2 separate regions of the Homo sapiens genome follow, and region 2 is linked to region 1. The links are contacts of gene promoters, found by promoter capture Hi-C in human tissues and cell types (Jung and others, 2019). All regions are on one chromosome and are shown on one strand. The core of a region is centred on a gene start or on the middle of the fragment in contact, and the rest is flanking DNA. Distances in the headings are between cores, read along the strand shown.

Region 1 (4,485 bases), core at 894-3,393:
ACTGCAGCCCTCCACCCTCTGCCATCCTGGATCCACACCCCACGCAGAAACAGCTCCCAGCTCAGTGGCCGCCTTAACTTATGCCAAGCAAGGACAGAGTGGCTGCCTGGACATTCTCCCACACAGCTGAGGAGTGTGTGTGTGGGGCGGGGTGGGGGGGGGGGCGGGAGGGGGAGGGGTCCCAAGGCCCAACTCCTACAAATCCAACTCCCAGGTCCTTTTATCCACAGCCTCCTTCTGGGCCTTGGCTACATCCTGCCCCAGCACGTGCTGGTGAGCCAAGGAGCCTGGACAGGCCTGCACTCCTCGTGGACCCCCAGAGAAAGGCCCATTATGGCTCCCTCATCAAAGGAACCTCTCCTTCACCCACAAATCTTGCTGAGCACCAAGGCTAAACTGGAGAAAAGACCTCATTTCCCCCAAACTGGGTTTTGTGGAAACTGACACAGGCACACACCAAGCCTTCCGCCCAGGTGGCCTGAGCCACCTGAGACCTGTGATCTCAATAGATTGGTGCAACTGAAAACTTCCCCAGCTGGGCACGCAGCTCCTAGGGCTAACCGGGGTGGGGCAAGAAGCCGTGGGCGGGGTATGGGAAGGGCGTGGCTGACAGCAGGAGAAACAGAAAGTCCCACCTCCACTCTGGGCAGGTGAGGGGGCCCCCGCCTTGCTCCATCTGCCCTGGACAGGTCACTCGACTGAGACTCAGACATAAGAAGGAAGGAGGGCAGGGGGCTCCGAGACCACCTGCCGTGTAGCCAGACTTGCCCCAGGAAAACCATGCTGACCAGCACCAGGGCTGCAGAGGCTTGAGGTGCAGGACCAGGGTGGAAACTTCGAGCCAGCGGGTTCCTCCCATTTCTGCTGGTCCTCCCCCTCCATGGATCAGAACAAATAACTGGGCCCCTCCTGCCTCCCTCCATGGCGCCTGTCTTTTGGGGGCTAGGAGTCCGGAGGTCATGGGTATTTGCTGGGGAATCTGAGCAGCAGCACAGTCCCACGTGCCGGGTCCGGTCACCAAAGTCTCCAGCTTTTGTGGACGTCCCGAAAAAGCGGAACATTCGGGGGTCCCGGTCCCTGCCCAGCCAGTTTGCAGGGCCTCCTGGGCAGGGCGCAAGCAAGGAGCCACGCCAGGAGACGCCACCGGCTTTTTCACCTGCCCCTCTGGGCCTGTGGAACCTGCCTCGGGTAGGGCGGGCTTCCATCCCACCCTGGCTTGATCGGGGAGCCCCCAAATGGGGCTGGTGGGAGAAGCCCCAGCAGAGAAGCCCTTCCCCACCCAGCCCCAAGCCCAGAGAAGCCCAACTCCCACCTTATCTGCGAAAGTTTCTTCCTGGGGTCCCCAGTCCTCCAGCCCCCCGCCCCCACGCCGTGTCCCCCACGCTCCCCGCCCCCAGCGCTGGCATCCCAGGGCGCGCCGCCTGCCAAAAGCCAAACTGGCTCCCTTTCCTGGGGCTGGAGCTGCGGCGGAATTTCGGTGGAATTTTGAGGTTGAGACGCATCTCGGCAAAGAGAGGGAAAGAAAGGGAGAGGAGGGAGGGGGGAAAGAAAGTCGGCTCTGGGCGTCCACTTGCAGGATTCGAGAAGGCGCCGAGGGACCAGGAGGCGGGCGCTGGGGTCCCTCGGCCAGCGGCGGGCGGGCGGGGCGTCTGCGAACCCTCGGGGTCGCGGGGGAGGTGGGGCCCCGCGCGGGGGCTGGGGTCGCCGCTCCTTACCTACATCTGCATTGCAAAACGCCTGTTGCGGGTGCACCGGGGAGCAGCTGCAGGCGTCGGCCGGGCGAAGCAGCGTCGCCAGCAGCAGGAGGCCGAGCGCCAGCCGCAGGGTGCGGGCCGCGGCGCCCATGGCGGGCCGGGGGGCTGGGCGGGCGGGGGCCGCCGCTGGGGGGTCCGGGCGCTGCTCGCGGCGGCGGGCTGGGGGCGCGGGCGGGGGCTGAGCCGGGGCCGAGGCGGGCCCCTCCCGCGCGGCTCACCCTCCTCACCTGCCCCGCTCGGCCGCGCAAACTTTCTCTCCTCTTTGTCTCGGGGGCGCGAGGGGAGGGGCGCGGGGCGCAATTCGCCGGGCGGGGCGGCGGGGTGGGGGGCGGCGGGCGAGCGGCGCTGCGGTTCTCGGCGGCCGCGCTGCCTTCTACGGATGTGTTTGCTGCGGGCTTGGGCCGGGCCGCAGTTTTATTGCGCTCGGAGGATTTTCTGCTCCTCCTCCCGGTGGCTGGCGGCCAATGCAGGCTCTGGGCGCTCCCAGCAGCCCCCTCCTCCCCCTCCGCCCGCGCCTCCCCCCAGCCCGCGCTTTTGTTGTGCCCGGCCTGGCACGTCGGGGGCTTCCCGCACCACCTGGCGCCCGCGACCCGCACCCGCGCGGGGGTCCCCGGACGCCCCCAGCCCCCCGACCCCGGTCCCCGCTGCGTGGCCTTCTGCGCCCGGGGTCCCTGACTCAGCGCGGGGGACTCGCGCCCCGTTCTTCCAGGACACCAGGCGACCCACCCGCTACCCTTTCCCCTTCAGCTCGACTCTGGAGGGCTACGCTGCTCCGTCCCCCGCCACCCCGGGGTCCCTTCGAGCCCAGCCTCGGGGCGAGCCAAGGGGTGTCCTTTGGAGCAGGGGCCGTTCCCTGTCGCCACCTCCCCGTTTCTGTGGGCGGGTGGCCTATTGAGAAACTGACAGGATCCCTTTTTCAAATGGAGGCCTTAGAATTTTAAGTGCGCCTGGCCAGTTTAGTTGGGGGGTGGGGGGTGTGGTTACTGTGAACAAAACAGGATTTTATATAAACTGGCCATATTTTTGACCAGCCAACAAGAGACGGGGGTGGGCCCAGGCGCCCAGGAGCCAGTAGGATCGCAGCAGAGGCATTGGCTGGGTTCCGCTCACAGTTTCCTCTCTTAGTCCACAAATGTGGGAGCCGAAGGACTTTTCCCAAAACAGTTTTGTGTTCCAGGAAAGACCCAGGCATATGAAGGGATGAACATGTGTAGGGTGGTGAGGCGGGCTTCCTGGCTGTGAACCTGCCTGTGCCCGGCTGTGGGCACCCACCCTGTACATTTGGTGTGTGCCCCGTGGGGCTCCATGGACACTGCTGCACTCAGGTCAGCACTCCAGCCCTCAGGTCAGCATTCCAGAGTGTTTGCAGTCCAGCTAGGGAGAGGGAAGCCCAGGAAAATGACACAGGAAGAATCAGGGCGGGCACGGTGGCTTGCGCCTGTAATCCCAGCACTTTGGGAGGCCGAGACAGGAGGATCACTTGAGGCCAGGAGTTTGAGACCAGCCTGGCTAGCATTTAGTAGAGACAGTGAAACCCCGTCTCTACTAAAAATACAAAAAATTAGCCGGGCTTGGTGGTGGGCGCCTGTAGTCCCAGCTACTCGGGAGGCTGAGGCAGGAGAATGGCATGAACCCAGGAGGCGGAGCTTGCAGTGAGCCGAGATCATGCCACTGCACTCCAGCCTGGGGGACAGAGCGAGACTCCATCTCAAAAGAAAAAAAAAAAAAAAAAAAGCCCGGGTGCAGTGGCTCATGCCTGTAATCCCAGCACTTTGGGAGGCTGAGGTGGGCGAATCACGAGGTCAGGAGTTCGAGACCAGCCTGGCGGCTAACACGGTGAAACCCCGTCTCTATTAAAAACACAAGAAATTAGCCGGGCGTGGTGGCGCGCGCCTGTAGTCCCAGCTACTCAGGAGGCTGAGGCAGGAGAATCGCTTGAACCCGAGAGGCGGAGGTTGCAGTGAGCCGAGATTGCGCCACTGCACTCCAGCCTGGGCGACAGAGAAAGACTCTTGTTTTTTTTTGTTTTTTTTTTTTTTTTTTTTAAAAAGAATTGCCCACTAAATTGTGCGGTGCTGACTTGAGGTATGAAACTTTGGAAAATAGTGAAAGAATGGAAAAACAGCTTCTTTCTGTTTGTGTATGTTTTGTAACAGACAGTTCTGAGAAAAGTTAAATAAGCAATGCCGTTATTTTTAGCACCCTGACAAATCCAAAGTCACTTTTTTGGTTTTTGTTAGCGTGAAATAGAGTTGGGTCGTTCACAAAATGATGTTTGAAGCTAACGTTTAAAAGTACAGTTAATTCAGAAAATTGTTATGTGCTGGCTGCCTTCAGCCATTTCATCGTTTTCTTTCCTTCTTTTTGGTTACAGGGGGAACAAAATGCTGTTGAACTTGTGTTTCAATTTGTCAGTTCATGATAGAAACAGGTAGCATAGGGGCTCTCGGTCTTTTAGACAAGCTCTACATATAAGTGATCAGGTACATGTTAGGGTGATAAATACCTTAGAGCAGTTGTGGTGCTGACAGCCAAGGGGGTGGGGCCAATGTGGGATGTACCTGGGAGGAAAGGGGGGCCTGGGCTCCAGGGTTGGGGGGCGTGAGACTGGAACTTCCAACCCAAGGCCTCGCACCTGTATCCTGGACTGCCCTCCCCGAAGTCATCCCCACCAGCACACAAACAGGCTGGAATTGCTCCCAGGAAAAGTGAAGCAGAAATCTTGCCAGGT
Region 2 (4,485 bases), core at 1,036-3,535, 91 kb before region 1:
CTGAGCCCAGGTGTTTGAGACCAGCCTGGGCAACACTGCCTAACCAAATCTCTACCCAAAGAATACAAAAAAAAAATTAGCTGGGCATGGTGCTATGAGTCTATAGTGCCAGCTACTTGGGAGGCTAAGGTGGGAGGATTGCTTGGGAGGTGGAGGTTGCAGTCAGCTATGATTACACCACTGGACTCCAGCCTGCGTGACAGAGTGAGAGCTTGTCTCAAAAAAAAAAAAAAAAAAAAGCTTCTTTCAGCCTAATAAAATATCACTCTTAACAGGGTAAATAACAATCTAAGCCAGGTTCTCCAGCAATATATGAGATTAATTTAAGTGGCACATGGACAAATATTTATTCATGTAATTTAGGAAAATATAACTCAAAAGTCAATCCATGACTACACGGACATAGAGAGATTTGGGAAACAAAAGGACAGGACTGAACTGCGTTCCTCCTAGACTATTTACACAGTGTTTCTCTTCTAGCTAAATATTAGCGCCAGAGACAGTCCAGCCTACGGCAGGAGCTGCTGCTCCGTGCCACGTGCACAGTGGACCCTCGTCAGAACAAACACCCCTTAGGATCCTCAACTCTTCAAATGCCATGTGCTAGGAGGGGGAGACCACAGCCAAAGCCCACTTAGGGGTCACTCAGGATCCAGTGGGGTGCAGGAAAAAAAGGCCACAACGTCTCTTCATATGTTCCAAGATAGTAAGATGCACTAATATTTCACAGTGATACTGGCCCATGGGACCGGTATTGGAAGGAAGACCAGGCGTTCCCCTTGAAGGGATGGCCATGGCTGCCTTACTCACACGCTTGCTGCTGACATGCTGCAACAAACTGCAGCTTACCTGTGCCAGGTTACGGGGATTTACAGATATTATCTAGTTTTAACTAAATTAATCCTCACAAAGTTGGCAACTGGCTCAAAAAGATCCTGCAGAGAAACCAAGAATGGAAGGCAGCTCTACAGTGGAAGAGCCCTGACAGGCCTGGGATAGCAGAGTCTTACTGCCAAAACCATGAGACGAAAACAACAGCCATCTAGTCAAATCTTACTGAAAGTCCACCCAGAACCACCTCAAAATTACCAAGGTCACCACTGGAAATAGGGGCTACAATTAGCCATCTCAACAATGTGCTTCTGCAGGGCACGGTGGCTCATGCCTGTAATCTCAGCACTTTCGGAGGCAGAGGCAGGCAGATCACCTGAGGTCGAGAGTTCAAGACCAGCCTGGTCAACATGGTGAAACTTCGTCTCTACTAAAAATACAAAATTAGCCAGGCGTGGTGGCGGGCACCTGCAGTCCCAGCTACTTGGGAGGCTGAGGCAGGAGACTCTCTTGAACACAGGAGGCGGGGGTTGCAGTGAGCCGAGATTGCACCACTGCACTCCAGCCTGGGCGACAGAACGAGACTCCATCTCCAAAAAACGCCCCCAAACAATGTGCTGCTTCATCTCAACAACTATGCCTTGATAATTAACCTTTGCTGCTATGAAGCCATCGCAATTAGCAAGATGTTTACAAACACTTCCCACTGCATGGCCATCTTGTGTTCTTTTTTTTATGTTTTTTTGAGACGGAATCTTGTTCTGTTGCCCAGGCTAAAGTGCAGTGGTGTGATCTCAGCTCAATGCAACCTCTGCCTCCCAGGTTCAAGTGATTCTCCTGCCTCAGCCTCCCAAGTAGCTGGGATTACAGGTGTGAGCCACCGTGCCCAGCCAGTAGCAGTCACTTCTATAGCACTCCCTCTTTGCGGGCTGCTACTCCAGGCACTTGACTCACTCAGAATTTATCGGAGCCTCACGCAACTCTGTAAGGAAGACAGTCTCATTCTTCCATAGACCAGGGACATTCTCAAAAACTCACAGTTACTAAGGGGCAAACTGGGAAGCAAACCCTACAGGCCAGGCTCCTGAGCTGTGTTTTCAACTGCTCTGCTCCCTCCAGAATTCTACTTAGAGATTTTCTGCGATGAAAACATCCTGCATTCCTAGGATAAACATAAGTTGCTTACAGTTTTTTAGAAACTGTGTCATTTGGTAGTATTTTCCTACAATTTTTATATCTATGTTCGTGAAGAAGTTGTGGTTATCCATTTTCTTTCTCGCATTTTCCTTATTATTGTTATCCGAGTTATAGGAACTTTATAGAATGAGCTGGGAAAGATTCTCTCCTCCTCTATTCTTTGGAAGAACGTGTAAAGGATTGGAATTGTTTCTTAAAAGTTACATAGAAATTGGCTGGGCACAGTGGTTCACACCTGTAATCCCAGCACTTTAGGAGGCCAAGGCGGTTGGATCACCTGAGGTCACGAGTTCAAGACCAGCCTGACCAACATGGTAAAACCCCATCTCTACTAAAAATACAAAAATTAGCCAGGCGTGGTGGCGTGCGTCTATAGTCCCAGCTATTTGGGAGGCTGAGACAGGAGAATTGCTTGCACCCAGGAGGCGGAGGTTGCAGTGAACTGAGATCACACCACCGTACTCCAGCCTAGGCAACAGAGTCCGTCTCAAAAAAAAAAAAAAGTTACACAGAAATAACATTGTCTCTGCTTGGGGTTTTTTATGGGAAGATTTTTAACCAATGCTTTAATTTCTTTAATAGTTAAAAGACTCTTCACTTTCTATTTCTTTCAGTTTTGGTAAGTTATATCTTATTTCACCTCTATTTTAATCAAATAGAGCACACCACCACATCCAGCTAATTGTTTCGATTTGTTTTTTGTGTGTGTGAGATGGAGTCTTGCTCTGTCACCCAGGCTGGAGTGCAGCGGCATGATCTTGGTCAGCTCACTGCAACCTCCACCTTCTGGGTTCAAGCAATTCTCCTGCTTCAGCCTCCCGAGCAGCTGGGATTACAGGTGCACCCCATCACGCCTAATTTTTATATTTTTAGTAGAAACCGGGTTTCGCCATGTTGGCCAGGCTGGTCTCCAACTCCTGACCTCAAGTGATCTGCCCACCTCTGCCTCCCACAGGTGTGAGCCACCGTGCCCGGCCTTGATTTGTTTTTGTAGAGATGGGATCTTGCTGTGTTGTCCAGGCTGCACGTTTTATAATACACATAAGATATGCTGATACAACAACAGATGCATAAAACAATTGGGCTAGGCATGGTGGCTCACACTTATAATCCCAGCACTTTGGGAGGCTGAGATGGGAGGATCATGTGAGCCCAGGAGTTCAAGACTACAACGAGTTGTGATGGAGCCACTGCATTCCAGCCTGGGTGTCAGAGCAAGATACTGTCTCTAAAAAAATAATATTTGTATATATATATATATATATATTTTGGAAGTATCTTTTGAAAACGTTTCTGTCTGGGTAATTATTTACAGAAAAGCTTGGCGAACACAGCCCCACCTGACCGATTCACCTTCATGGCCCATTCTGCAGCAGGCATGATTCAAATTTAGGTTTCATCAGTTACTATACATTATGAACTACCCTCCTAAATTTGACCCAGACTGAGAGCAGCAGTGCCACAAGTGCATGGGCTTATCTAATCCAGAGGACCCACAGCCACCCCACTGCTGCAAACCCACACTCACAGCTGCGAGCATGCTCCTTGGAGAGCAGGTAGTTGGCTAGAGGTGGTGTGTAGGTCAAGCACTGGATGGTGGCATTGAGAAAGCAGGTGTTGCCAAGGTTGTGGAGTCCTGCGCCCACGCGGAAGACCCGCTCCCACCTCAGAGACAGTCGCTCCGTGGGGAAAAGCACTTTCTGCGGGGCTGGGACTCCGTCACCACAGCTCTCATACGTGTGCTCACTGCCTGAGGAAGAAAGGGACAAGGGAAGAAAAGAGGAAGACGTAAGTCCACACACAGGTCGTCCACAAAAAGAAACTCCTGAAGCATACACTTAGCATGCAGTGACTCGGAACATGGCACCAGAGAAGAACTGGTGTTCTGGTTTACAGGACATTCCTGGAAAGCTCAGGAGTAAACCCAGCCATCCCACGGACCTCCTAGGCTGCTTGGCTAAAGAATTCAAGGGCCCCTCTATAGATGGAGGACACAGCTCAGAGACTGAGTGGCGGAAGGAGCCAGGCCTGGCACTCTGCACCACACTGTGCCCACATGCAGCCCACCCCATTTCTCTTTCTTAGTTCCAAGCCTGACTTTCGACTGTATTATACTTGGGATAGGGGGACAGCAAGTCCAAGGACCCACCAAGTACACAGATCCACCAAGCACACAGATTTCCTTGCTACCAACCCTGTATCATTACTTCTATAACTGAAATCCACTGACCCCATGTAAAAATTCATAACTCTTTGACCACATTCTCTTGTTTTTCCTACTAATTAGTCAATATTTAAGTCCATCCACTTCGTCACCCCGGAGTGAGGGCCTCTCTGCCAGCACACTGCACATCTGTACCCTGTCTCCTGGCCGGTGGGTCATCTCCACTCTTGTGGCGACTAGCTCCCTCTGTTTTGGGGTTGAGCAACACATATTTGCTCTTTAAGGCCTCCAGC

Evidence for each region. Contacts are between HindIII fragments. The study calls those that stand out against the background at their distance.
Region 2: a fragment that was not itself captured here is called in contact with the fragment with the promoter of TIMP2 in region 1 in 4 of the 25 tissues and cell types used here (dorsolateral prefrontal cortex, hippocampus, mesenchymal stem cells and 1 more).

The regions. Positions count from the first base shown.
Region 1 is chr17:78,923,244-78,927,728 of GRCh38, forward strand. It overlaps TIMP2 (TIMP metallopeptidase inhibitor 2), which reads right to left and starts at 2,144. Exons shown (of 5, transcript NM_003255.5): 1 at 1,716-2,144. The coding sequence starts at 1,845. RefSeq lists an enhancer at 304-373. The HindIII fragment of the contact is 25,377 bases long and covers 1-4,485 here.
Region 2 is chr17:78,831,724-78,836,208 of GRCh38, forward strand. USP36 (ubiquitin specific peptidase 36) reads right to left here. Exons shown (of 21, transcript NM_001385174.1): 3 at 4,388-4,485; 4 at 3,557-3,778. Among named protein-coding and RNA genes, the nearest start is that of USP36, 6.8 kb to the right of the region's middle. The HindIII fragment of the contact is 6,692 bases long and covers 1-4,485 here.